Regions from separate parts of the Homo sapiens genome. Here all the other regions are linked to region 1. The links are contacts of gene promoters, found by promoter capture Hi-C in human tissues and cell types (Jung and others, 2019). All regions are on one chromosome and are shown on one strand. Each heading gives the region's core, a stretch centred on a gene start or on the middle of the fragment in contact. The rest is flanking DNA. Distances are from core to core; before and after follow the strand shown.

Region 1 (3,882 bases), core at 679-3,178:
CCTGGGCAACATCTGAACAGGGTCAAGCCAAGAGTTGGCAACCACAGGTGCCCTTACGGATTCCTCCAGTGTCAGGACCTGAATCCTTTCAGCATGTCCAACGAGACTGCAAGGGTGACACTAAAGGGAAAAGATTTTCCCAGGTTATATAAATAAATGAAAGGGAAACGCTGGGTCAACTCTCAAGATGGCTATGCCTTCAGGGTTCCCCAGCCAGAGGCGGCTGAGGAAGGTGAGCAGATAGGAACATAATACTCATCTATAAGCGTGGGTTCAAACTCATCCTAGTTTCAACTTTTTGTTGTTCTTAGGTAGATCCAATTCCTTAGCTGAGTCCCTGACAGCACCACAGCTCTGAGTGGGTAATTTCCTTTGGTGGAAAGACACACATCAGAGACTGGAGGAGGTCCGGGGACATTTCATTTGAGGGGAGGCGGCTGCAGGTTCAATTTGCAGGCGATTTATAACAATCAGAAAAAAAATTGTTCCTGGTGCTCGTGCCAATAACAAGAGCATTAATAATAATAGCAACAACATAGTAAACTCTGAATCTACCAGGCGACCAACTCCCCGATTGTCTGGTACTATCCCCTCTCACTTCCAGCCTGGTCTCGGCAGAAACAAACAAAACAAAACAAGGCTCTGACGCTGCCTCCGGGCTGCCTTCCAGATTTCAGCCCCCACTGCTGCCCCAGAGGCGGATAGCTAGGCAAAGGCTGCTGCAGTCTCTCCGATTGCTAAGGACACGTTGAGAGTCCTCGGTAACGTTCTCTTTGCAAATCTGAAACTTTAGCCCCATTTGACCCCCTTGCCCCCGGCTCTTCCCCCAGAGTAACTACAACAAGCAAAAACCAAACAGCGAGCGCAATTCAGAGCTTTCCTTGGGAGTGTCAGGGCCCGAGGACAGGAAATCCGGGGAGTTGGCGAAGTCCGGCAGGTGGCGGGGACTCGAGTACCCACCACATTCTCCTCCCACAGCCGAGCTCCGGCGGGGGCGCGGCGCGAGGCACGGACCAGGGATCGGCCCCGTAGGTGCCTGCGCCTCCCCGGAGCCTGGCTCTCTGGTCCCCTTCCCGGCGCACATCTCTGTGCGAGGGACGCGGCCACCCTGTCCCCTCTGCAGGCGGAGGGAGGCGCCACCGCCTGCGGGGCCAGCGAGGGTGAAGCCGTGCCAAGCGCCCCCACAAGCCGCGCTCCTGGATCCCCAGTCACCATCCCCAGGCGCGCGCAGTCCCCGCTCCCAGCGCGCCACGTCCTCCACCTGCCCCGGTGCGCCCCAGCTTCCCTGCTTCCAGAGAGCAGCTCCCCCAGTCCCGGCAGCCCATTTCCAACCCCTTCTCCCACTAAGTCCGAGGAAGTCGAACTCGGAGCGGCCGGTAGGCTCGTCGAGGTGGCAGGGAGTTGCTGGGAGAGCACAGCGCGGAGAGGGACCGCGCACGCCGCCCGGGGATTTCGCCCCAGAGGGCTGGCTCCGCGCGCCCGGAGTCCCAAGCCCCAGAAGCGGGGCCCGACCCGAGCCCTCTGCGTTACCTGGCACCGCCGGCGACTCTCCGGAGACCTTCGGTCCTAACTGCTCCAGGGCGGGCGTTCTGCTCACGTAGCTGCCTCCCCCACTGGGCGGCTGGTGCCCCGCTGGGTCTCTTCACCCCTGCTCGCGGCGCTGTCCCCGCCCCCCACCCCCCTACCCCCTCTGTCAGAAGTGTCACAGCTTTTCTGCCTTCGGATGTTTCGCAAAGTCTCCGTGCGGTTGCCAGGAGTTGGGGGGTACTGCCAAGTGCACCAACCCCGCCGATGCCCTGCCCTGCCCTCCCGCGGCCACCGCGTTCGGCCTGTCCAGTGAGAAGAGCCCCCTGGTCGCGGTCACCGTCCCCCGAGCGTGGCGCGCGGTCCGCTTCCCCTCCCTCGCGCCTTCCCTAGCAGGAGTGGCTGCTGCCTGCCTGTACCGCGGGTCCTCATTCCCCTGCTCATGAATATTCTGACAGAGGCTAATGCCGCTGAAGTAAATTGAATTAGCCAATTGGTGCCAGGAATGTGCGCTCCTTCCTTCTGAGGAGCTGTCTGGAACCCCACCAGATGAAAGCAATTAACGTCCGGTTGGCACCCTGTGGTTTAGACCAGTGAGGGGCAAAATGGGTTAATTCTTTAAATGCAGTTTAGATACCGCATTTAAATGTTTCAACTCCTCTATTGGCTGAGAGCGTAAGGAAATGTTAAGAGGGAGAGAGAAGAAAGGGGATGTGTGGACGTGGGGAGGGGGGCGGGGGTATTTACATCTAAACTTTCCCCTGAAGTTGAGGTAATTATTTTGCACAGATTCTGGAAGAGGCAATTGAGGAGTAGAACAGGATAAGGCAAATAAAATCAGAAAGGAAATGAGTACCAACTCGGGTTTAACCTTGACCTTGAGGGTGCAAAAGACATTGTTTTCAAGAGGAGAGGTAGGGGAAGATGGCATGTGTGAGGGAAACCTCACTCATCGACTTTTAAGAATTTCTTCAAATGCTCAGATTTCCTTTTCTTTTTGTCCTCATAGGAAAATCTTAGAGTTTTAAGCCTTTAACTAGAGATGGGGTGGAGGTATATTAAGGGTCAGAAATTTCTGAGGTGGAAGCTGAGACCACCCTTCTCTCCCAGATGAAGGGGGTCCCCCAAATCACACAATACTGTGACAGGCCCATTCCAGAAGGCAATTCCAGCTCTTATTTCTGAGGTCAGAATACACAAGGTCAAAAGGAGAGATCACCTCTCTCCTGTCCTGATTCCTACCCTAGAATGTCAAGTTACTGACGACAACTTGGGTTTCACAGTGGCTGGAGGGGGACTTTTTGCCCGATGTGGTTTCTACATTTCTCTTCAAGCAAGGTGCTTGGAGGATTTCCTCCCCCATCACTGATTGTAATAGAGCAAGTTATTTTGATTGAATTGATAGGTTACTAAATAATCTATTTGTACAACTGCTCTGTGGCCAAATGATCAATGTGTGTAAAGAACTGATAAAATGATATATATAAACATCCAATAAGATTCCCAAGTGTGTGACAATAGAAATAGTATCCCAGTTAAGGCAGTCATGCCATATTTTAATAGCTTTCAGCAGGCCTAGAATTAGAACTCATAGTTATAACAATGATTATTAATAGCAGAATAGCTAATGTTTATGGAGAACTTGTTATGTGACAGACATGTGTTACACATGTTATTTCATTTCATTTTTCCAACAACTCTATTCAGTCTAGACTATTATTTCTCTATTTTAATAGATGATGCAGATGTGGCTCAATAAAGTAAGGGCAGTTGACCCTTGAACAACATGGGGGTTAGGAGCACTGACCCTCGTGTAGTCAAAAATCCGCATATAACTTTTCACTCCAAAAACTTAACTACTAATAGCCTACTGTTGTCTGGAAACTTTATGGATAACATAAGCAGTCGACTAACACATATTTTATATGCTATACATTTTATATGCTGTATTCTTAACAATAGTCTGGAGGAAAGAAAATGATACTAAGGAAATAATAAGGAAAATGAAATGTATTTACTATTCATTAAGTGGAAGTGGATCATCATAAAGGTCTTCATCCTTGTTGGCTTCATGTTGAGCAGGTGAAGGAGAAGGAGGAAGAGGGAGGCTTGGTCTTGCCCTGTCAGGGATGACAGATGGGAGAAAATCCATGTCTAAGTGGACTCATAGAGTTCAAACTTTTGTTGTTCAAGGATCAACTGTAGTGTGTCCAGGTCATATAGCTCATAAGTGGGGAGATCAACTTTGACCCAAAGGACTCTGATTAGTGGTCCAGGGCCTTCCGGTCTCTAGCAGCTTAAACTGTCTTCTTGTCTAAAAAGAAAATCAGTTTCTTGGTGTTTTGTTGAAGTGACTTG
Region 2 (3,882 bases), core at 440-2,939, 120 kb after region 1:
TAGGGAGATAGGCAATCAGCAGGTAACTGAACACGTATGTAATAGAATCCATCCTCATAAAAGCTATGAAAAAAATAAAACAGAGTGTGAAATTTATGATTGACCAGGGAGATGAGGTAATGAGCTAAGATTAATTTTTTTTCAATTAGGAGTTAAATGCAAGACATATATTTATATGCCACATACCCAGGTATTATAGAAAATAATCAAATTTAGAGACTAATTGTTAATTTAGTCATCTTGTTTAATATTTTTTTCTGTGTCTTATGGGGGAAATGATGCAGTTAAGGAGGAACTGAACTCTGGTCTTCTATTATCGTTGAATCATAATATTATAACCACCTATCCTAATTTTGGTGTCCACTGCAAATTTGTATACATGTCTTTTGTGTTCCAGTCCAAAGATGTTATGAAAATATAGACCTTGGCAGTTTGTGATGTACTAAGGTAATTGCCATATTTAAATGTAAATGATTATCATTTTGAATATTTAAGAAATCAAGGTAAAGAGAACTGAATTTTAACATTACTTAGATGATATAAGCTGAGGGATATTGTAATGGAAGAATAAAAAAATCGTAAGGGGAGTAACTCAGTTTAAAAGATGTTTGTTAGATGTTTTTCAGTGAATTAAGAAAAGATGAGATGCTGTCACAGGCTCTGTCATGGTCCTTAGAAGCATGTCTCTTTACAAGTGTGGAGGTGATGCCCATTTAAAGCTTATCATTATAAGGGTATCTTTGTCTAAGAAAAGGACTGCCATGTTGTTTCAGTTTAAATGTCTGTGGATTTCTGATTCCAGAGAATTATTTTGATATCAGGGATATTTGTTGTTTTGAAAAACCTGGCTGGCAAATGCTTTTTAAAAAAATCAACTCATTACTTGGTTTTTATGTATAAGGGTAACACGTGACATCCAAATATTTCATTTTGTATAGCTTCATGTCTTAAAGTTCTGATATAAATTGAGGGCTTGAAAATGCCATCTCCAGCAAAGATGGTGATGCTCTGATGGAGAGAAAAGAGGTGGCAAACCGCTCTGCACTGGTGAATTCAACAGAGAGGATGAAGCAAGGCAGTGTGCCGGACACCCCCATCCCCGTTGCCCAAATCCTCCAAAAGAACATATTCTCACATGTCACTGCCAAGAAAATAAGGTCAATATGCATCTAAATAAATTACAAAAGACCCTTACTGTGCAGTAGGCAGCCAAGCCTCGAGGCGCCATGCTGAGTTTGGAGGTATCACCAAATGTGCTGGCTCTGTGGGAGAACGGCTTTCTCTTCCTCACCGTGGTGGGAAAGAGAAGGCTGCTGTCACTGTTCTTCCACTGCCATCTTTGCTGACAAGATTTGGAGTGACAGTGGCCTGTGGCTTCATCAGTTGAGAAAAGCACAGTAAATTGGCAGCTACTATAATGGCAAGTATGTCTACTTCCCTGCCTGACTCCTTTTGGAAAAGAGCACAAGAGCATATGAAAATTGTGCCTCATCCTCTGACTTATATGGGCAAATGCACCTTCTCTGTTGACCTGTTGATTATGATGCTTATGCCTCCCTTGACTGCCTGGGTCTATAATGATAGGCATCATAAAACCAGATAGAAACACACAGTCATGACTGCAAACATTCATTCACATAGCAGAGGCTTAACAGTCCAAAGTACCAAGCAGATCTCATTTGACTTTGTAGTAAGGTTTTATGTGTAATCATGACAGATGTTCAGGGAGATTATCTTTTTCCATCTCCACCCTGCCTCTCTGCAGCTTGCTCACACAGGACTCGCTCCAAAATACCCTCTCTTTTGCAAACAGATGAAGCTTGAGGCCTTCAACAGTACGAAGTCAACATTCTACTCATCAAGCATTTGCTTTCCCAACAGATGAATGCTCCTTTCTCTTAGGCCAGTGGCAGGCTGCCCTGCAAGTCCTGCTTGGCTTTTTGTGCCAAGAGCTACCTGATGCCAACCAGAGGCAACTTCAAAGCTACTTTATGTCATAACAGAACTTTAAGAACTTGTCCCCTCTAATGATGCATACTGGATAGTAAAGATGTTTTGGATGTGTATTTACTTTGTCGCTAATCTCCCTTCAGGGGTTTAAAAGTGAATAGGCATAATAAAATGCTTCTTGCTGTTTCTCTTCAAATTTAGGGATTGACTGCACCACATGCTTTCTCTAGGCTTATTTGGTTATCTCTAAGTAAAGGCTTTTCTCCGCCAAAGTTCTCAATTTCCAGTGATACTTGAAGAGCATTCTGTTTGACACAGGCATTTCTCAGTCCAATTATGACATCTTATAACATCATCCAATATTTTCTTTTCTAAGATTGGAAAAGGAAAAACAAAGGCATAAGGATCTCTTTGGAAAAATTTTCAAAGCATGGGTTAAAGACCTATTTGGACCAATAGATAATGCCTTTTCTCTGTTTCTATTTTGTATTGTTTTTTGTTTTAAACAATGTTCCTATGTTTTGGCATTTCCTCTTTATTTGTTTGCATTTTCTGTGTTAAAAAGAAGGTATGTTTAGGCCTTATCTAGAAGGCACACACATTTAAATATTAAAATATCTCCCATGCAAACATATTTGGAATAGGAGGAAAAAACCAGGACATTGTAAATGAAGAAATGCTTTTATAAATTCAGTGTGGTCCTCAGGGTACTCAGGAAGCTAATTAAGAGCATCTCATTCCCTCTGTGGGTAATCACTTGAAATACAGAGCTTAACAGAACAGGGTATCAGGAATATAAGGAGAAATGCTTATCAATGGTCCCTGTTTCCTAAGAAGCACCCTTGTTGCCATTCAAGTGCCACACTGCACAAGTTCCTAAACTATGAATGACGCTAGGAATCTTCAGGTTGGAATTTATAGTCGTGTGGGACAAGAAAATTATCCAGGTCACCCCTTCTCATTTCAGTCGTGGAAGACACCAAAACCTAAAGGGGCTGAAGGAATTGTACAAAGTCACACAAAACATTAGCAAGTAGAAATTAGACCTCAAACTTCCTTGACAATTATTTCTTGCTCTAGGTTCCAAAGGAAATGATTCTCAGAAGACTTTATTTTCTTTTTTTGGAGGTCTCAGTACCATGCCATTCCACATTGGACATTTTCTGAACCGATAAACTGTATGGTAAAACAACAGATTCATACAAACTCATTTTGATTGGTTATTTCTTTCTTTATGTAGTTTCTTTTTTGATTGTCTTCCTCGTAAATTTAACATGGTCCCAATTGTAAATAAAATCAAGTGATCTGTTTTAAATTGACTTCTGAGTACATGTACTGGGATCTGTGTTCTAGGAAGACACCATATCTCTTGGGCTTTGGTAGACACAGATTGATTAGGTGCCATGTATCTCACATAGAGAAGATGTGATTCAGATAGAAAATGAAGGATCTCACTAGCCATAAAAGAAAGAAACAATATTACACAGTTAAAGTCTTGCCAACAGGACCAAAGTATGGCTCTACAGTCTTTGTGGTCTGAGACACCTCTCTGTTCTATTCCTAAATTTCAAAATTGATTCTTCTGTATTTAGTTCTTGGCAAGATTATCAGACAAGCCAATCTGTAGGATTGTTTGAATTCCGTATGTTTGGCATTTGAATTAAAGTAAGGATAAATTATAACATTTAAAGTTCTTTGAGGCAAGAGTTTGAAGGTCCTCACCCCCTTTTCTTTTATTACTTACTATTTGTCTTCGTTGGCTCTGATGATGTATTTTCAACAACATGGAGCTAATAATGACATAATAATAACTATTAGTTCAATCTATACATTGGCCAGTTAGTTTCATTTGATTTTATGGCCATTATTTTTAGGCCACACATCTCACCAACTTCTACTTTTAATTGCAATGGAGCTCAGATGACAGGGTGC
Region 3 (3,882 bases), core at 899-3,398, 110 kb before region 1:
CCCAAACTGAGAGATGACAGACTTGAAGGATATGGAGAAAAAGATTCAAGTTCTTGGCGGAGAAGGTCATGTTCAGAAGCAAGTAAGGTAGTGAGAGCGGTGAGAACAGGAAACAGTTAAAGAAGGAGAGCTCCAGAGTGAAAATCTTGTGTTTGATGGTCCCTTCAGTGATGCTGATGCGGTTGAGGTGTGTTATTTTTATGAATAGTTGAGCAGAATGGAGGTGAAGTGGGTGAGAAAGTGTGAAACTGTGTGTATGTAGTTTTACAACGTGTCTGTAAATCCTTTGATATTTTTCCCTCGTGAAGTATAGTGTAATTTCCTTCTCCTTAGGTATGGCTAGCCTTAGTCATATGTTTCTAACAAATAAAATGCAATGCATATGATGCTGTGTGGGTTCTGAGGCTAGGCCCTAAGAGGTGATATGGCTTCTGTCTGTCTCTCTCTTGGGATGCTTGTCATTGGAACCCAGCTGCTATGCTTTGAGGAAGCCCAGGGTACATGGAGAGATCTATATACAGGGACACTTAAGCCTGGGACCCTCAGCCTAGGCTGAGCTCCTGGACAAATCCAGCACTAGCTTAGCAGTCCTGGAGGTGAACCATCTGGAAAGCAGACCCTCAAATCTTGGGTTGACCAGCCCCAGCTGAGGCCATGCAGAGCACAGAGGAGCCCTCCCTCCCAAGCCCTGCCCACAGTGGAGATTTGTGAGAAAGATAAATGATTATAGTTGTCTTAAGCCATTAAGTCTGAGTGGTTTGTTTGTAGCAATAGAAAATTGGAATAGGGTTTTAGCAATGTACTAAACAGACATATCTGTATCTGTCAGTGTGGTTGTCCAAAGAGCAAGAGTGTTGGACTTTGAATAATCTGAGTTCAAATCTTTGACCACTTATGTGACTTGGAATAGGTTACTTAACATTTCTGAGCTTCATTTTTCCTATCTTTAAAATGAGAATAATGGGACCTTGTGGGATTGTTGTGACATTTGGAAGTAATTAATATAAAGCTAATGGCTGCCAGTTTAAAAAATTGTGGCTATTCTTTTTATTATTAGGAAAACTTAGAGGTTAGGCTTTGGCATCAATTAGATTTGTGTTTTCTTTCTGGTTCCATTGCTAACAACTCTGTGGCTTAGGGCAGGTTATAGAACTTCTCTGATTTGTGGATTTTTTTTGTGTAAATGGAGGATAAAACCTACCTTGCAGGGTTGTTATAGATTAGAAACAGTGCCTGTAAGACACCACATAGTGACCAGCACATGGTAGGCACTAAATAAATAGTAGATATAATTATAAATATAATAATTACTATTTTAACTCTAAACTTATTATGGCTGCTGGCAGGAGTAGGGCAGACTAGAAAATTCATAGCCAAGCTTTAAAACCTTTGAAGGAATTATAAGAAGGTGGTAGGCATTAGTAGAAGATAGTAATGAAGTTTCAGAATGGATGATATTAATAAATGATATAAATTTTCAAAGAAGAAACTTTTGAATGATGAGAGCAGAATAAAGACTTAGAATAGCATTTAGAGCAACCCCTTTCTTCCACTAGTACTGGGAATCAGAGGAAATAGGCTAAGGAGATTTAAAAAGTAATGAGTTTCTAAATATTAGAAAAGGCCACAAAACTCCAACATAATGAATTTGAAATTATGGAGAACAAGGGAGGTCAAGAGACTGGCAGGAAAGTAATATGATTGATAAGCAGGATTATTTTGAGGAATTTTAGTAAAGAAGAGGAAGGTTTAAAGCTCTGCCTCATTCAACAGACAGTTCACGGCTGTAGTTTGCTGTGTCCTCTAACATCAGCCACCCATGTAGACTTGCACAGGACTTGCACCTCTCCGGCAGCCCTCCCCCTTTGGGTTGAATCTCTCTTGACCTTCCTCAGACAGATTAATCTATTTTCCTTTAAAAGACTACCAGCAAGTAATTGACTATCTCAATGCCTGAGAACCTCCATTTACCAACTTTTCCCATAGCTGCCAACTTCAGTCTGTTTTTACAAGGGTATTAGCCTTCAAGCATATCCCATACCATATTTAATAGCCATTGAACATCCCTTTTGGTCTGGACATAAAAACAAAATATACTCAACAGTTCCCAAGAAAGATATATGTCAGCATCTGGAAACATTTTTAAAAAATTGTTTTATCTGTCTAATAATGTATACACCTGTCTTATATACCCATACCTTTGATATAACATCACCCATTCATCTGACATTTACTGAGTATCTACTATGTATTAGATACTAGTCTAGATACCCTACCCTTTTGGAGGTTGAAATCTATGGTGCAGAATGGGGAGGGAGGCAGTGGTGACAGAGAGATGGACCATAAATAAATAAATACACAAGTATTTACTTAAGAATGTACAAGACATGCAATATACCTTGACTAGCTATAAGCCCCAAACTCTAAAGGGTCTGAGAGAGTCCAGGTATTGGGTATATTCAGGGGAAAGAGTAACGGGTCCAGACAACTGACTTCCTGCCGACACTGTGCACTGGGAGTCACTGGAGATTCCCAGTGGTGGACTACCCATACCCTGGCTATCTAGGGCCATCTGCAATTTCCCAGATCCCTACCAGTGTTGTACTCTCTCCTTTTCCCTTTCTGTCCCCAACATGGTCTGTTGGGCCATTCAAATTCCTAATAGAGCACCATGGGGAGAGGGGTCCTGAAAGCTTCTCTAGAGACCAAGGCTGTCCAAATCGCAACCAACAGTGGGATAACGAGCTTATGCCAGAATGTAAATCAGTGCCCTGCATCCTCTATAAAAGAAAATCTCGCTATGGAAAAAAATGTCATCTGAACGACAGGGTGTGCTTAGTCATGCAGCTGATTTGCATTCTTTTGTGGGCTCCCTGTCTTGTTGCAGACTAGGAACAAATAGTTTGTGGACAGGTGCTGGTCCGAGGGCCACACTCTGAGTAGCACGGCTCTGGAGCATAGACTGTACATCTGGGATCCATGTGGCTGCATCCAGCCTGCAGTCATGTTTTCTTTGGCCTGCATACCGTTGTCAACACTTGAAAATATAAATATTTTAAATAAAATTCCACATTTTCAATAGCTCTTCATCATGTCTTTGTGTCCCTCCAACAGTTGATATGTAGAGATTCCATATTCCTACATAGCAAAAGAAAGATGGAACTGAGAAGTGATTATCCCTTTTATATGGGGCCTGTACCTTTAAAGAACCCAAGGGACATGTTTGGCCCAGTTTTTTCATTTATGCTGTTTGCTGGCCCTTAGAGGCATTTGATTTCAAAACCCCTAAGGATCAGTGGGCTCACTGAACAAGCACAATTGTTGCTCAGCCCTGGGAGGAAAAACCTAGTAGGAGTGTGATTAAGAATGTCCCTTTTCTTCCTTCCTTTATTCTTTCACCCATTCATGAGGTCTTCTCTCCCACCCTTTCCATCATAAAAGTACTTACAACTTATCGTGTGGAAGCTGCTCAGTGATGAGACTGGGAAAGATGAATATGCGTACGCTCTTTCACTCACAGCAAAATCACTAGTAAGTAGTTCCAATCTGGGAAGCACTGTTTTTTTTTTTCAGGATCCCGGGGAATTAGATCTTTAAATCTGAGGGCAAATCAGTGAGGGCCTCAGAAGGCCAGATCTGTGTGCCATTGCTAACTGCTCAGAGATGAATTACTGCTAACCTTCCCAAGAGAGCAGGTCAAATCAAAGTATTGCTTTAGAAAGTGCCTTTTGGTTTCTAATGGTTCAATGATCTTCTTGTAACAAAGATTCTCCTTTCACTGCTCCCTCTAATCCTTACAAATTTTACAAAATGGTGTTTGATCTGACTTCTGTGAAAGCACATAATAGTCTGCAGTTTTAGTTAGAGTCTTTTTGATGCCAT
Region 4 (3,882 bases), core at 878-3,377, 91 kb after region 1:
TAAATGATACGAAATGGTACACCTACCTAGGGTGCTTATGAATGGAGCTTGCAGGACTGGAAGTTGCTCTGGGTGAGTGAGTGAGTGAGTGAGTGACAAGTGAATGTGAAGCCTAGGATATTACTGTATACTAATGTAGATGTTTTTAACACTGTACACTGAGACTACACTAAATCTGTAAAAACCATAAAGTAATCACACTACAACAGCTATGGTGTCATAAAGCAATAGAAAATTCTCAGCTCTATTATAATCTTATGGGACCACTATTGTACATGTGATCTGTTGTTGACCAAAACATTGTTATGTGGCACATGTATAACAACATTTAGAAATATACTTTTTGAGGCTCTGGAATCAAAGCCAAACATGGACTTGTTACTTGAATATGTTTTCATATAATATACCGGTATTAATGGCTTGTCTAATTCACATTTGGATTTACATGTGGCTGCCCCACATTTGCTACACTGAGTGTCACCTGGCAGTCATAGGACAGTCAGCTAACGTTGGCACTGTTCTATGGCCCTTTAGAACAGGAAGTAAAGAAGAAGCCTATAGCTACTGAAATTTACAAAAAGAATTTTAAATAGGCAGATTTTAATTACCCCAGAATAGAACTTGGCCAGCATACCAAATTGTTCTTCCTCCTACTCATCTTGGAATTTCAAAAAAAAAAAATATCACACTGAATTGGTGCACATATTTATACTCAAAAAAATCTGGATCTAGTTCATTGCACTTGATATCAGAAATTAACAACTTTTAATTTCCAACTCTAGATCAGAATCAGATTGATACTGAGAAGTCACATATGGCTAACTCATCTGTAAGTGAAATCTCTTACCATTCCTGGCTGGTCAGCCTGGATAGTTCTACCTCTCTCTCTATGTATACAAAGAGAGAGGGAGAAAGCTGTAAAATTATCGTAATTCCAGGTAAGGCAACTATTCTCGGGTAGACACGGATTCTTTTAGTCATTCTTGCCCATTTCTCTAAAACCATGTTTCTCAAAAGACAACTTATGGATGACCTGCCTCAGATCTTCCAGAAGAAATCCAGATGCCTGGCCTTCAGCCAGACATTTGGAAGCAGAATCTCTAAGAGATGAGTCTGGGAATGAGCATTGAGACGCACTCCCTGGGAATTTGGAAGCACATTAAAATTTGAGAATCACTGCCCATACACACTGGCCTTTCTCCCTCAGAATCTTGTACAAATTTGAAAGCTGATCACTGAATTATTTAAACATTGAGCTTACATTCTTTAAAAATAGATTGAAAAACCCAAACCACAGAGAATCATCTCATTCTAGTTGCCCTTTGAGTCCTGGCACCCTCTTGCATGAGATGGTTATATCAGCTCACTGTCTGTTTCTCTCTCTCTCTCTCTCCACACTCTCACCCTCTGAGATTTTCCCATGTACTGTGTCACAGAGGAGACACAGTTGAGTTTTGTTTTCAGAATGTTCTGGAGAATGGCATATCTTTCAGTTCTCCCAACTCAAGAGGTAGGTGAGTGGGAAGACTAAGGGCTTCAGAGTAGGGCAGACTTCATCTGGGTTTATATTTAATCTCTCCTACTTCCTAAGTATCTTTGGGTCATTTATCTTTTGGATCATTCAGCTGTTTTAACCCCTCTGAGCATGGTGTTCCTTATCCCTGAAAAAGGAACAATGATACCAACTTTGCACGGTTGTTATGGTATTAAATAAAATAGTGTATTCAAAGGGCTCAGTATATTTTGACCTTGCTCAATAAATATTAACCATGATTACAATGATCATTTTGCTTCATGCTGGGGACAGAGGTGTTTCATGGTGTCAAGGTAGAGCAGAGGCCTCTAGATGAGTTTGATAAAGTTGTGCATCCCATCTTTTGCCACTCTGCACTGAATCCTATCTGCGAAATCCCTCGTGTTTGCTAATGCACGCACACCTGGTATCGGGCTTGCCTGTGCTCCACCCACGTCCACTCATGCCTGTTGATGTCCTGTGGGTTCCTTTGTGCTTTATCCAGCTCCAGGTGCATTGCTTGGAGTGACACACTGGTGGTTTTCTTCAGAGCCCTGCCCTAATGGGGCAGTTTGGTCTAGACACCCAGAAAGCAGAAAGCCCCTAAATGTTTATATCTGTTCCCTCCTCTCACAACCAATGCTTGCTACATGAGTGGGGAATCCGATTTCCTTGCCTTGGAAGACAGGACCAATTCTGAAGTGTAATTTACATTCCTGAGCTCACTATAGGATCAGGCTGAAGCTGAAGCTTGGCCTAAAATCCCACATTAGCTTTGCTTCTTTCTCTGACCTGTCCTGTCTCCCTACACCCTTACTGGCTTTTCCTGGGAGCATTCCATAAAAAATCACTTGCACACAAACTCTCATCTCAATGTCTGCTTTTAGGGTTCCTCACTAGGGCGCACACACACACACACTCACACACCTGGTTAGCAGGCGTGCTTGGCTTCTGCAGAAATATCCACAGCCTATTAAGTACCCCAAGAGCACACACAAAAGGATTTCCACATTGGAGTGTTTAGAACAGGGGTCGGCAGGGTCCAGATAGTACATATTTTGGCTCTGTAGGCCACGTATAACAGGCTGTGACACATCGCTGACCCTTGGTTTCAGGTCACAATTCCCCTTTCCTTTACTTCTGTTTGTCTGTGTGTTTTTACACTAATGTCTGTCTGTCCCTCCCTATCATTTAGTTGCTAGGTCAGACTGATCACTTGCTCAGAATGATTGGTGTCCCCTTCAGTGCCTTTAAACTTCTGGGAATAAACTGAAAATATGAGGCACAGAATTACTGCTAACACCTGGGTCATCTGTCCAACTGCCAGATAGTTTTGTTTTTTTTTAAACTGCCAGTGTTTGTATTGCAATGGCTCCACAGCCATGTTAATGCCAGCAAAACAGCATTTAGATCTGTGAATCCCCATGGAAAGCAAGCAATATCAGCACCCAGAAGCGTCATTAGTATTTTGTAGTCTTTGCTTTATTGTTCTGCCTCAAACTAGCAACCTTCAGTGGATCATTGACATTACTCCTACTCTGCTACCAGTTTATTTACTAAGCGGTAGAAATTTAGCATGAGCTGAGGTGAGAAAGGCTTATTTACATTCAATATTACTTGACATCCTTATAATTTTTCCTTTTCATGACAAGGGGAGAAATTTACATTAAAAACACATCAGTAACCTTAGTAATCTCCTTGAGCAGACAAGGGTGCATAAAATCAGAAGGCAAGCTAAGAATGATGGGAACACAAATGCAGTCAAGCCTATTTCAGACGAATTATAAAACTGTAAGATTAACGAAAAAGCTTGCAACATACTTAGCCCAGGGAAGTCAGTAGTTACTGGGTGGTCTCCAGCTTTATCTTGATGAGAGAAATCATTTTTTAAAGAATGGAAAGAAGTCGAGAACTGCATTCGGCATTCAGATCATTGTAATGAAGGAGTTAAAGAGGTTGGTAGCTGCCGTTTTATTGTTGTAATATATCTGAAAGTAAAGCTTTTCTTTAAAAATTGAATTTTTATGCAGTATACATTTAAATTTTGTCATCAAATAACTCTTTTTGCTCTAAATAAAATCAATATTGAATTGCAACACCCACAGAGTAGCTAGAATGCATTAGAACATTGGGATGTAATTTGTACTGGAGATGTATTTATAACTCTCTCAACTTGTCTGACATGTGCCAAAATGACAATAGTGTAGTTCAGGTGTATCTCTGAGAAGCTTCTAGAATTGTTGCATTTCCCAACTTTATCCATTGTGAGAATAGACTGGGGTCTCAGACACATTGGCAGCTATATAATGGTTTGGGACAACTCTTGGCAAGGAGAGCTGGTGGGTAGAACTCAAACAACAGATCCAGGT
Region 5 (3,882 bases), core at 510-3,009, 90 kb before region 1:
CAGGGCTAGGTTCTTATTTCATATTTTTTATTGTTAGAAAACAAAAATATGAAGGAAGAAGAAGAAATACATGAGTTAAAATTTTATTAGCAGAGGGTAGGTTCTTATATCAGGTTGGATTCCAATATTATCCCAATGATACTAAGAAGTCTACCTCAAAGTAAATATGAAAAAGAATATGCATTCTGAGAAATGTTTTTTCCCATACTACATTGGCTAATTCTAAATCAATGCTATTTGACATTAAATAAAATTAGTACATACAAATTCTAGATGGATGAGATCTCAGCAATCACTGTATATTTTACAATTTTCCATAGCATGACAAATATTGTATTGATTGAGAAGGGTATAGTATCTAACCTAGAGCAAATTAAGTCTAATTTAGGCACAAATAATAATCAGTGCTAACACTGCCATACTTTCCAATGCTCAGAGAGACACATTTTGGTTTCTGTAGGCCTCCCATTTAGTAAACATTGCACAAGATGGCAGGCAAGTCTTCAGTGCTTGTAGCACACTGCTTGTAAACACAAGTTGATTAAGTCTGCTGGTGAAATGCTCACTGTAGCTAACAATAATCTATTGTATATTTCAAAATAGACGAACTAGAAGAGAGGACTTGAAATGTTTCCAACACAAAAAAGTCATAAATGTTTGAGGTGATGGATATCATAATTGCTCTGGTTCAATCATTACACATCATATGCATGTATCAAAATATCACATGTACCCCGTAAGTATGTACAATTATGTATTAGTAAAACAAACATGAGTTGAAGACACTGTTGCATATACTCAAGTCTGCATAGAATGCAGTGCTGGAGGTTGTCTTGCTGCCATTTTTTTGATGAGCGTAGGAAGCGAAGAAGGGTATACTTGCCAGAGAATGAGGGAAGATAAAATTAGAAAAAATATAAACATTTAGAAAGGATTAAAATCTTTGAAAATGATATCATTGTCTCTGTGCATATGCTATACTCTTTAATTAATTTTTGTATTTTAGAAAACTATAAAACACTGTCACGTTGAAAGAATTTAATCTAGCATTTGGAAGTGAAATATGGACAGCTTATATTGAATAAAATAATTTTCCAGAACTTCAGATTTATAGAATGAGTTCAAAAAGCTTTGAATTTAGCAATTTTTTTATGGGGTGAAGGCTGGAGAGAAGCAGGAATGGGGAGTCTGATATACATCATGATTAAACAGTGGCTTTTACTGCTAGATGTTATAAAATGTAGCATAGATCTATTAAATTAAAAAGAAAAAAAAAAGAAATTTCCAGAGAGAGTCAGCCTGGACTTAATAGATGCTTAATCTTGTAGTGTAGCATATTCAGGGGAGTCAGGGTAAAGGTAAGATAGGGCCTTGGCCCTGATGGATGATGCAGAGATTATTCACAAACAAGTGAATGGGATTGTACTATGAAACTATGACTCTCAGATAAGTGAGTTCTTTACAAGAAGGCATGAGTCCTCAGACACACTTAGAGGAGCTCAAGCAGGAAGAGGGTCCAGGCTGTGTCTCTATAACACTGAGTGCTCTGATGGGGGCTGCCCTAGCTGAAAAGAGAGACCCTGAGAGGGCAGGGGGCCCTCCCCAAATCCTTATCCCTGTGCTCTGTATACCTCATCCTTCTGCATCTTTGATGCTGATCTGACGCTACTGACCACATTCTTACTGGTCCACACTTGACGTGATTTGGGACCTCCCCAGGATTTGCCCTGTTTCTTCTTCTCGCATTGGACCAGCCATTGAATATTCTTGATAAAAAGAACAGAAAGAAATAAAAACCAACTGACAATGATAAAGTTGTATTTTTATTTAGTAGCTAAATCATTCATCTACCCACAAGACTTATCCTAAATTACAAAAATAACAATTGCGCTCTCTGTGTAAAAGAGAATTCCGTTATAAACATAGTCAAAAGCAAAATATAATCATTGGAACTACTTTCTCCTACTCTTTCATAAAATTTATGTTAGATGAGTCATGGACAGTTTTATTTATGAATTATGGGCTCGTTCACACTTGGTAGCTATTGTATAAAATGTGACCATTTATATAAGTATATATTTATAAATATATTTTATATATTTAAAACATTTAACAAAAGTATTTTTTGTTCTCTTTATATTGTATACTGTGAGTAATTTTTTATTAAATGTCATGTAATCAAAAGCTCACAGTATGATAATCTTTTTCAGAATCTTGGCTCCCATGCTGAGTAAAAATACTTCCCTGAACATAGAAAGTTTGAGGTTTTTTAAAAAATGTAATGTGCAGTTATAACTGTGGAGTTTTCTTCTGATAACAGCTTCTCCTAAAAACACAGCAAAGGTCAACAGAACTGCCTGGCTAACTAGAAAGTAATTAGAAAAATTCTCATTAATGTGGCTATTTATTTATTTATTTTTTGCCCTGTAGCAACATTATTTTTTCCCAGTAAAACACTAATTTCTAATTTAATTTAAATGATATCAAGACAGAAGATGCCAATGTGGAAAGATAGAGAAATTGACAACCCATAAAGCAGCTTATAAAGAACTGATAGTTTTCCTTTTGCCTGGAAACTGCCAGTTGCTTTCCCTGCAGCTGTATTCGATAAGCTCAGAAGAATATTCTTGAAAGAGAAATGAAATATATGTTTAATTATGTCTTTAAGCTTGTGTAGGAAATCACTTTTCTGTCCCATGGAGCTAAAGAACCGTGAATTTCATGTATTTTTTAAAATATTACCATCCTCATTAAGGTCCCTGAATGCATGGACTAGAAGCCATATTAATCCCAAATCAGTATGCTTCTTTTGTTATTTTAGATAGTAAGTACAGTAAGCATGGTAATGTATAGATTTTTGAAAAGTTGCTTGAAAAATTAGTTCATTGTATGATATGAGCGTTATTGAAAATGGAATTTGTGACTATTTAGATGAAAACTACTGAATTTTCCCCCCTCATTGACACTAATCAGACCAAATAAAATTTTTCCAGTGGAATTGGAATTAATTCTATGTTATGTGCCCCTCTGGAAAAGCAAGACTCATGATTATCTATCTATCTATCCATCTGGTTTATTATTGATACATATTAGGTATACATATTTTTGAGGTACATGTGATAATTTGATACATTCATATAATCAGGTCAGGTTAATTGGTATATATATCTACCACCCCAAATATTCTTTTTTATGCTATAGACATTCAAAATATTATCTTCTGGCTACTTTGAGATGTATAATTGATTCGTGTTAACTATAGTAACTCTACTGATCAATTGAACACCAGGTGATAGTTTATATTTGTAAGAGACCCACAAATCCAGGAATAGAGCTGTACACTTTATAATTATAAATGACATGATTAGATAGTGAAACATTTAAGCCCGATTGCCAGAGACTCAGAGATTTAGATCTGGGACTTCTTTTTTGGAATATAAAGTAGGAGTTATGCCTCTGGTGATAACAGTAAATTTGAAAAGATAATAAGAGAGAATATTATGAATTTCATTAAGTGAAATTTATCTTCATGGCCCATGGATTAGATTACACTAGTTTTTAATGTTCTGTATTAGCTGCAATATTTTTGCTATCCCTTTGTTTTACTTCTCTGCTTCATTTATTTACAAAAAATTTCTCGAACATTATTTTAGACACCATTTCATTAATTTTACCACTCTGTTGATCAAATAATGTCAAGTTTAATCGTTAGCTATTTAAGTTTGGAAAGAGCAAGGTCATGACCCTCTCCCTTTGTTCTTTATAGCTGGCAAATTTTAGTATGTATTATTATTATTTTTTTGGAGACAGTATCGCTCTGTCACCCAGACTGGAGTGCAGTGGTGCAATCTCAGCTCCCTGCAACCTCTGCCTCCCAGGTTC
Region 6 (3,882 bases), core at 739-3,238, 72 kb after region 1:
AGGCGTCTACCATCCCTGCAGAGTGGATGGAGAGGACACAGGGAAGCTCTAACTACCTCTGCAACTGCGTGGCAGGGAGAGAAAACACAACTGGACATGCTGGTGAGTTTCAACCAATAAGGAGGGAAGAAGCCAGCAGATCTACTTCTCGTCCTTCTTCCCCATCAAAGACTATTTTAAAAAATAGTAGTTTAATAGGCTCTATGGAGACAACCTGTGAGATCAGGCAACCAGCTATGTTTGTTGTGAAGTTGTGGCCTATTTAGAAACATACCTTCATGTTTTTGCTCTCACTCATTTCCCCCATCACTTCTCCTTTTCCCTTATTCTTGTTTCCTGGGGTTCCTCTGCCTCTCAAAGCATTAGCTAATAAGTTTTTCTTAGGGCTTAGTTTTCAAGGGAGCCTGGGATAAAACACCTTCATTAAATATACTAACCATTGCTCACAGCACACTGGGCATCTACAGCCAATCAGTTAAATACAAGTCTGGTGGTTCTCAAAGAGAGATCCCTGGCCCAGCACCCGCAGAATCAGCATCACTTGGGGATTTGTTAGAAATGCAAGTTCTCAGGCCTCACCCTATACCAACCAAATTAGAAATGCTGGCTAGTTTTGATGCACACTAATTAATGCATGAAATCCATTGATCTAGTCCAAGTGTTGTCCAACTCATATTTATGGACTAGCTGCTTATTTTTTATAACAAAATGGTTTATTGGAACGCAGCCACACCCATTCGTTTACTTAGAGCCTATGGCTGCTTTTATATCACAAGGCAGAGTTGAGTGGTTGACAGAATAAAGGATTTATGATATGGCTCTTAAAGAAAACATTTGCCAACTCCTACTCTAGTGCAACCCTGCACTGCTGCTCCCCACAGGTGAGTCATATTCTTACCAAGAGTCAGTGGTTTTTCTTACCCAAACCTGTGTGTACCAGTTACTCTTGTTATTGCTATCATTTAACCTAATTGAACCTACCTCAACCAATGCCCTATGAATTCAATAAGGAAATAGGGATTTTGGATTTTATTTTTATGGAAACTAAGTTGAGTGTTTTGAAGATGCTTGAGGTGAGTAACTAAAATGTATTGCTATAAATCTAGGTGTGTACTATAAGTTTATATATTTTATATAGCTATAAAATACTAGAAGGAAATAATAGAAGTCAAGAAATGGGCCAGGCACGGTGGCTCACACCTGTAATCCCAGCACTCTGAGAGGCCAAGGCAGGTGGATCACTTGAGGTCAGGAGTTTGAGACCAGCCTGGTCAACATGGTGAAACCCCGTCTCTACTAAAAATACAAAAATTAGCCAGGCATGGCAGTGCATGCCTGTAATCCCACCTACTTGGGAGGCTGAGGCAGGAGAATCACTGAACCCAGCAGGCAGAGGTTGCAGTGAGCTGAGATTGTGCCACAGCCCTCCAGCCTGGGCAACAGAGTAAGACTGGGTCTCAAAAACAAAAAATTAAAAAAAAAAAAAAGAAAGGATTTGCATTCATTTTGTATTTAGGTTCTGACTCCACTTTAAAGAAACTCAAACTGGGAATTGCAGGGAATACATTAGGAGTGTCGCTTGGGAAAGAATGGTCTATTAGAATAATCAGAAGAAGCATACTAAAGTAAAAGATAGCCCCATAAAGACTGGTGAATAAGTAAATGTTATCCCCATTGAAGTTAAAGAGAGATGTGGATTGTTTCCGTTGTTTTTATGATTTCAGCTTTAAATAATCTTCTTGATTAGCTGGTCAGGATGCTGACTGAGGCTCGTAAAAGGCATCTTTTAGGTATATGAAAGTAGATGTCCCTGTGTCATGCCTGAATATACCTATAGGTGTATTATTAGGGTCTGCATATCATCAGGATATATAGAAATTTCTCAAATGTATTTTTTTAACCTATGCATCAGAATCACCTTAATAAAATGGAGACGCTTGGAGAGATTCCAAGGAATCTTAATTTTAATGGCCCCCATGTGATTTTTATATATGCAGAAGAATCAGTAGTACAGAATAACCACCTATTTAATTATTCACATTCAAGTCATTAAATAAAATGCAACCCAACTCAAGGGATTATATAAAATCAGCTAATGCTTTTCCTAATGTCTTCCATTAAACTATGTTATTGCATATTTACAGCCATCTTTAAATTCCTTCCATACGAAATGATAGATAAATAGGTAGTTAAGTTTTAGACTTGCTCCTATTTACTATATGAAAGCTTCCATCAGACAGCAATCAGGTTTTTTAGTAGTTAGTGAAGTCCCAGAGTTGAACCATCAAAATCTCAAAGCTGTAAATGTATAAAGTATGAAATCGAGTATGGATGTATATGTGAATGTACATATGAATGTATAATAGAATGTTAACTTTTAAATCTTGTCCAAGACACTGAAATAGAATAGATGTGAAATTTAAAAGTGAGATGCCAAACTCCAAGAGGAAATTTCAATGTCAGTGACTGAGAACTGGTGAGATGGCTCAGAAATTCACAAAAGACAGAGATGCCTTCCTGCATGGACCCCACTGGAGAGTCTGGCTGCTTTCCTGTACTGCAGGTGGAGAGCTGAGAGGGGCCTCTTGAAAAGCCCAGTTTCCTGGAGCTGGGGACATGAGGTCTGGTGCCTGATTTCACTTTGTGAAAGCTAAAACAGCATGGCCTGTAGTGGGAGGAGCAGGTGGGAAGAGAGTGAGAGCAGAGGAGAAAGGGAGGCGTGGGCAGGGTGGGGTGGGGAGAGAGAAAGGAGAGCAGAGACCTAGAGTTAACTCCCTTTTGCCATGGGAGTGTTCCCTCAAGACTCCATCTTGGCCCCTTCTGGGAGGAGAGCAAACTTCATGAAGCCTTAGCAGGTCCTGGCAGGGAGGACTGTCAGGCAGGGGACTCCAGTGAAAGCCTGTTAGTGCAGTGGACAGACACCAGGAGAAGGGAGCCTCGGTCAGAGTGTTACTGGTGGAAAATATACAAGTTACCCCAAGTTACCTGCAGCCTATCCAAAGAAACTTTAGAAAAGAAAAAATAAGGCATACTTTAATTGCATTCATCCTGTGTTTGGTCAGCATGCCAATCAAACATGTATGTGGGTGCTGGTCCCCAAGCACAGTGGCGAAATAAAGATACTCACAAAGCAGCTTAAGTACTAACTCCCTCAAAATTTGGAGGGCAGGTTTGGGAGGCATTTGGCCATGATTCTGTCACCTAAGTATTTTTACCAAATCACTCGAAGAAAAACCTGAGGAAAAAGCTTCTCTGTAGCAATTGTGCTGTGAAACTGTCTTTATGATCACCTTGGAGGGCAGATGCAATCAATTCTCTGCCTGAGATGGTCTTTAACTAAAGGTCAAACAAATTTTCCTACATGCCCAAGGGAGAAATATTTAAAAACCCAAATAATTGCCCCATGATGTCACAGGTATTATTTTTAGCATTTATGAGCTTACCTCATTTTCCTGAACTTAACACTATATGAATTTCTATTTTATATAATGTCGGATGCTGTGATATTATGTTTTACTGTAATCCAAGTATTCAAATTACATTAAAATATTCATGCACCTACAAGTCATGTTAATTGCCTCTGCTGCATTTTTCGTGTGTCTTGCTCCAGATTTAGTTTCTACCCTTTTTCGCTCAGCTCTGAGGGTATGTCTCAATGGGTTCCTTTGTTTTCTGGCTTTTGGGTATAGGTCACACTTAAATCTGAGTAAGGTAACAGCATTTTCCTCAGCCTTTTTCCTAAGGAGGTACCCAGGCTGGCTGCTCCCTGACTTAGGGAACCTGGTCCTGAGTGGGCCTCTCCTCATAGCCCAGAGATGATCACTGCAGCCTGCTTTAATGGGATTCACTGTTATTCCTGTGCCTCTCACATGGGTGTATGCA
Region 7 (3,882 bases), core at 711-3,210, 66 kb before region 1:
AGTCACTTTATCTTGTTTCCCTGTTATCCTATACATAAATATATGTGTGTAAACACACACACACACACACCTGATCATTGATATAAAAACAACAGCAACAACAACAAAAACGGGTCACTAATGTATAGAACCCAATAGTGCCTGTAACATAACGCAATAAATATGAGTTCCCTCTTCCCATCCTAAATCCCTTTTCTTATTTCTTGGGCATTTTCCTTTCTCTCCTCACTTTTTTCAAAGGATAGGTTGGGAATTTAAAAAAGATGGAACTGGAATAAGCTTATTAGAATGCTTTGCAGCACATTGCACAAGGAAATATTGGCAGATGAGTTTGAACATGGGTAAAATAAGTACGAGAATGATTAGTGCCTCTTCTCATTCCAAGATAGTGTCCTCTATTAGCATGGATGCTGGAGATGCAGCTGCACGGAGAGCATAGTTTGATATGCCAGAGGTAGGAGATATTCCAGGGAGGGCCAGCCCTTCAACGCATTAGATCAAATGTTCTCAGCCCGAGGAGGACAATCCCTCAACTCTAAGGTTAAGTCTAAATAGCAGCCACTTCCTCTTTCCCACTAAATACTTATTATGAGTCAGGCCCTTGTCATTTGGGGTTTCAAGCCAATGATAATAATCTTTCAGTTTATATCGAATACTATTGGGACACCAAAGACTGACCAGAGCTCATTCTTTGGTTCTGAATTCCAAGATAGCCTTTATTATATGGTCCAAGATGAATAACTTCCTAACACTATCACTTGATATCTTTACACAAGAACATTTGCCTCCTGTGAATTGAATCCTAGAAATAAAATTGTGCAGGTATTAGGGTGATGCATTTACCTGAATCTGGCAGAAGCACTTTCGACACAGCTAACACAATTATGGAACGAGAGGAGGGTAGAGGTTGTGTTCCCTTTGTCTCTTTTTCAACTACAGAAATTACACTGTGGTAGCAGGATTTCCTTTAAATCTAGGTTTGATAGACATTCCATCTCCCTTTGCTCATTTTCACTTGCACATAATCTCAGTTATGTGACATATTACCAGAGAAGAGAGTCCTGCTTTTGCCTTTAGGTCTTTCGCAAGTTAACTGAAGAAAAGAATGAATTTTCAGATTGACTGTTATCTCACTAATCACATCTGCCCCCAAGTTAAGCAGTATCTACTTTGCCTTGCTCTGTCTAGACCTGACAGTCTAGACAAGAGTTAATGCTCATTAGCAGGCTGGAGAGGCCCCATGGACCTCCTTTGCCAGATAGTGTGATGTTTTCTTCTTCTGATAGAATTTGGAAAGAGGCTGCGACTACAGGTCAGGGAGGTGGACATGCAACAGGAAGCAGCCCTATTGTCCCCTCACTTGGTAACAGTCTCACAGTACAGCAACACATTCAGCTCCTAGGATAAAAGTAGGTGTTTTGCTTTAATTAAGACCAACAAAGACTTTTCTGTTCTCAATAGGCTTATATTTTTAGACACTAAGGTAAGGAGGAAAAGAACATTATCCTATTCTGTGCATAAAAATAAAGATTCAGCATGAACTGCATAATTAAGAACTGAAAGGGGGAAATACAATTCAATTAAAACTGACAGAATAATACACGGAATCAATGGCTTTATTTGGTGCTTAATGATGATACTGTTTTCATTTCATTATACATGAGTCATAACCAGCTTTGCCTTAGTGTAATTGTATTTTTTACAGAGTAAACCAAAGTATGCAATTTGTTATAGACTCATCAATTAAAAAGAGGCTGATTTAAGATGATCATAAGTTGATCCCTGAGACTGAAAGCAAATTTTTTCCATTCCAATATATTAACTTATTAGAATGATGAGTAATTTTAGGCAGGGGTGGAGAGAGGCATTGGTGGGGGAGGTGAAGATCAGTGAACAAATATTAAAGACTGATTTCCATGAAAAAAATGGCAGTAGTATGTTTTCCAGTGGGGAAATGATAGGGTGATGTATTTTTGATCCAGTGAGCTGAACAAAACATGATGGGATTTCGGGCTGGAGAAGAAATGTATAAAATGAATCATAATATTGACACAAAGCCAAGTGTAACAGGGAGATATCATTTCCATATGTGGCCTTCTAGCTATGTGGATTTTAAAATTGGAAAATGAGACCCAAGGAAAGCAGAAAGAAGAGGTTAAATTAGAAGTTAGGCTACTCGAGTACTTTCTGGAATTAATAGTGGAATATAGAACATGTTGCTGTGAGGAACATTCACTAAACTTCTCAGACGTCCTGCTCTGTGAGGTACAGACAACTGCTGGTGTTCTATGAACCCCACTGAAAACCCAATGTGAATTAGCAATGAATGACTATGCAGTCAGGATCGGAGAGGTTGGTCACTGCAAAATGTGTCTGACTTATGTCTTCATTCCATTAGTCATGTTGATAAAAGTTTCATATTTTCCATGCCTTGACTAAACTTCAAATGTACTGTATGAACAGGTAAATGAAGGGACTCTCATTTACCCATGACAACCCTGTGCTCCTCAAAAGCTGATAAGTTTGGGCCAGGGAAATAGTAATTTTCCCTTCATCGTGGGATCAAAGGGCCTACCCTGTCCTCCCTGGCAGACTTGTGCTGGCCACTCAGAACATACTGATATAGGCCAGATCTTCCCACAGTAAATATATCCTTCTAACTCATTTCTATTTGTTAATATTAGCGTAATCTTCTTTCTTACTGGGCCATGCTTCTTTGTGACTGGGCCATGCTGACAATGCCATTGATTCCTGTAGAGTGACCTGGAGTGGACAGAGGAAAAGCAAACCTAACAGAAAAGTATATACTCAGGAGTCTCAATGCCCACAAATGATAACACAAGAAGGCCTGTGCTCTGTAGATAGGGGAGACCATCTTAAATTCATAATAACTCATCTGTAAGAACCATTTTTATATCTTCTTAAATATCTTACATTTTCCTTTTTTGTTGTTGTTTTTACACATTGAAAATAAGATGTCAATATGCTGATCAGCAGAAAGGTTTTTCAGACACTTCCATAGATTATCCCTTAAATACTTGGCTTATCATTTAATCTTCTAATTATGATCTCCTAATCATAACCAGCTACTTGAGTAAATATGTACATATAGATATATGTATATAAATTAAGAAGACCATAATTAAATTGATACTACTCTTTTCAGGTTCTGGAATTGTTGGCAAATTACATAGTTTTTATAGGATGATTAGAAACAAGAACTATCAATTACAAAGCAGATAAAACTATAAAATTAGAGTAAATAAGACATGTACTATGTATGATTCGTATACTAGTTGTGACAGACAAATAGTGACCCGTTCAGACTCTCATTCATTGCAACCTGTAAACAGCACAATGCAATTGCTAGATGGCTACACAGGCTAGGGATGTAGTTAGTTGGTACAAAGCCATAAGTTATGCTGCCCTTGTTAGGATTCAAGCAAATAGCCTTGATCTTGTTGCACTCTGACTTAGCTAGCAGAGCAAGTGAATCACAGTTGGGAGACTACATTTGTTTGGAGTTGTAGCGTTCATTCATTCTTTTATGAATTCCTACATTCAACAAAAACGTTTTCTGCATCTCTTACGATTAAGGCATCATACTAAGTGCTAAATACTTCTTTTAATAAACACTTTATAGTACTTACTATGTGCCAGGCATTGACTCATTTAATTCTCATAATTACTCTATGAGGTGTGTTTCCCTCATTTTACAGATGAGGAAACTAAGTCACAGAGGTTGAGTAACTTGCCTAAGGTTACACGGCTAGTAAGTGGCAGAGCTGAGATTAGAACCCAGGCAGGCTGGCTTCAAAGTTAGTGTTCTTAACCACAAGACAGAGGTAGTCTCTGTTCTCCTGGAATTTACAGTCCAGAGGG

The links. The method cuts DNA at HindIII sites, captures the fragments that hold promoters and counts their contacts. A contact is called where the count stands out against the background at its distance.
Region 2: a contact is called between a fragment that was not itself captured here and the fragment with the promoter of CDH20 in region 1, in 6 of the 25 tissues and cell types used here (adrenal gland, bladder, heart left ventricle and 3 more).
Region 3: a fragment that was not itself captured here is called in contact with the fragment with the promoter of CDH20 in region 1 in 5 of the 25 tissues and cell types used here (H1 embryonic stem cells, dorsolateral prefrontal cortex, hippocampus and 2 more).
Region 4: a fragment that was not itself captured here is called in contact with the fragment with the promoter of CDH20 in region 1 in 4 of the 25 tissues and cell types used here (H1 embryonic stem cells, liver, mesenchymal stem cells and 1 more).
Region 5: a fragment that was not itself captured here is called in contact with the fragment with the promoter of CDH20 in region 1 in 6 of the 25 tissues and cell types used here (aorta, bladder, dorsolateral prefrontal cortex and 3 more).
Region 6: a contact is called between a fragment that was not itself captured here and the fragment with the promoter of CDH20 in region 1, in 2 of the 25 tissues and cell types used here (ovary and thymus).
Region 7: a contact is called between a fragment that was not itself captured here and the fragment with the promoter of CDH20 in region 1, in 3 of the 25 tissues and cell types used here (bladder, dorsolateral prefrontal cortex and hippocampus).

The regions. Positions count from the first base shown.
Region 1 is chr18:61,331,476-61,335,357 of GRCh38, reverse strand. It overlaps CDH20 (cadherin 20), which reads right to left and starts at 1,928. Exons shown (of 12, transcript NM_031891.4): 1 at 1,531-1,928. The HindIII fragment of the contact is 19,388 bases long and covers 1-3,882 here.
Region 2 is chr18:61,213,616-61,217,497 of GRCh38, reverse strand. No RefSeq gene overlaps it. Among named protein-coding and RNA genes, the nearest start is that of CDH20, 120 kb to the left of the region's middle. The HindIII fragment of the contact is 3,990 bases long and covers 1-3,684 here.
Region 3 is chr18:61,442,602-61,446,483 of GRCh38, reverse strand. All of the region lies in intron 1 of CDH20 (cadherin 20), which reads right to left. Among named protein-coding and RNA genes, the nearest start is that of CDH20, 110 kb to the right of the region's middle. The HindIII fragment of the contact is 4,049 bases long and covers 124-3,882 here.
Region 4 is chr18:61,240,808-61,244,689 of GRCh38, reverse strand. No RefSeq gene overlaps it. Among named protein-coding and RNA genes, the nearest start is that of CDH20, 91 kb to the left of the region's middle. The HindIII fragment of the contact is 3,001 bases long and covers 627-3,627 here.
Region 5 is chr18:61,420,970-61,424,851 of GRCh38, reverse strand. The region is part of intron 1 of CDH20 (cadherin 20); the gene reads right to left. Among named protein-coding and RNA genes, the nearest start is that of CDH20, 89 kb to the right of the region's middle. The HindIII fragment of the contact is 5,425 bases long and covers 1-3,882 here.
Region 6 is chr18:61,259,071-61,262,952 of GRCh38, reverse strand. No RefSeq gene overlaps it. Among named protein-coding and RNA genes, the nearest start is that of CDH20, 72 kb to the left of the region's middle. The HindIII fragment of the contact is 6,105 bases long and covers 1-3,882 here.
Region 7 is chr18:61,397,623-61,401,504 of GRCh38, reverse strand. The region is part of intron 1 of CDH20 (cadherin 20); the gene reads right to left. Among named protein-coding and RNA genes, the nearest start is that of CDH20, 66 kb to the right of the region's middle. The HindIII fragment of the contact is 8,240 bases long and covers 1-3,882 here.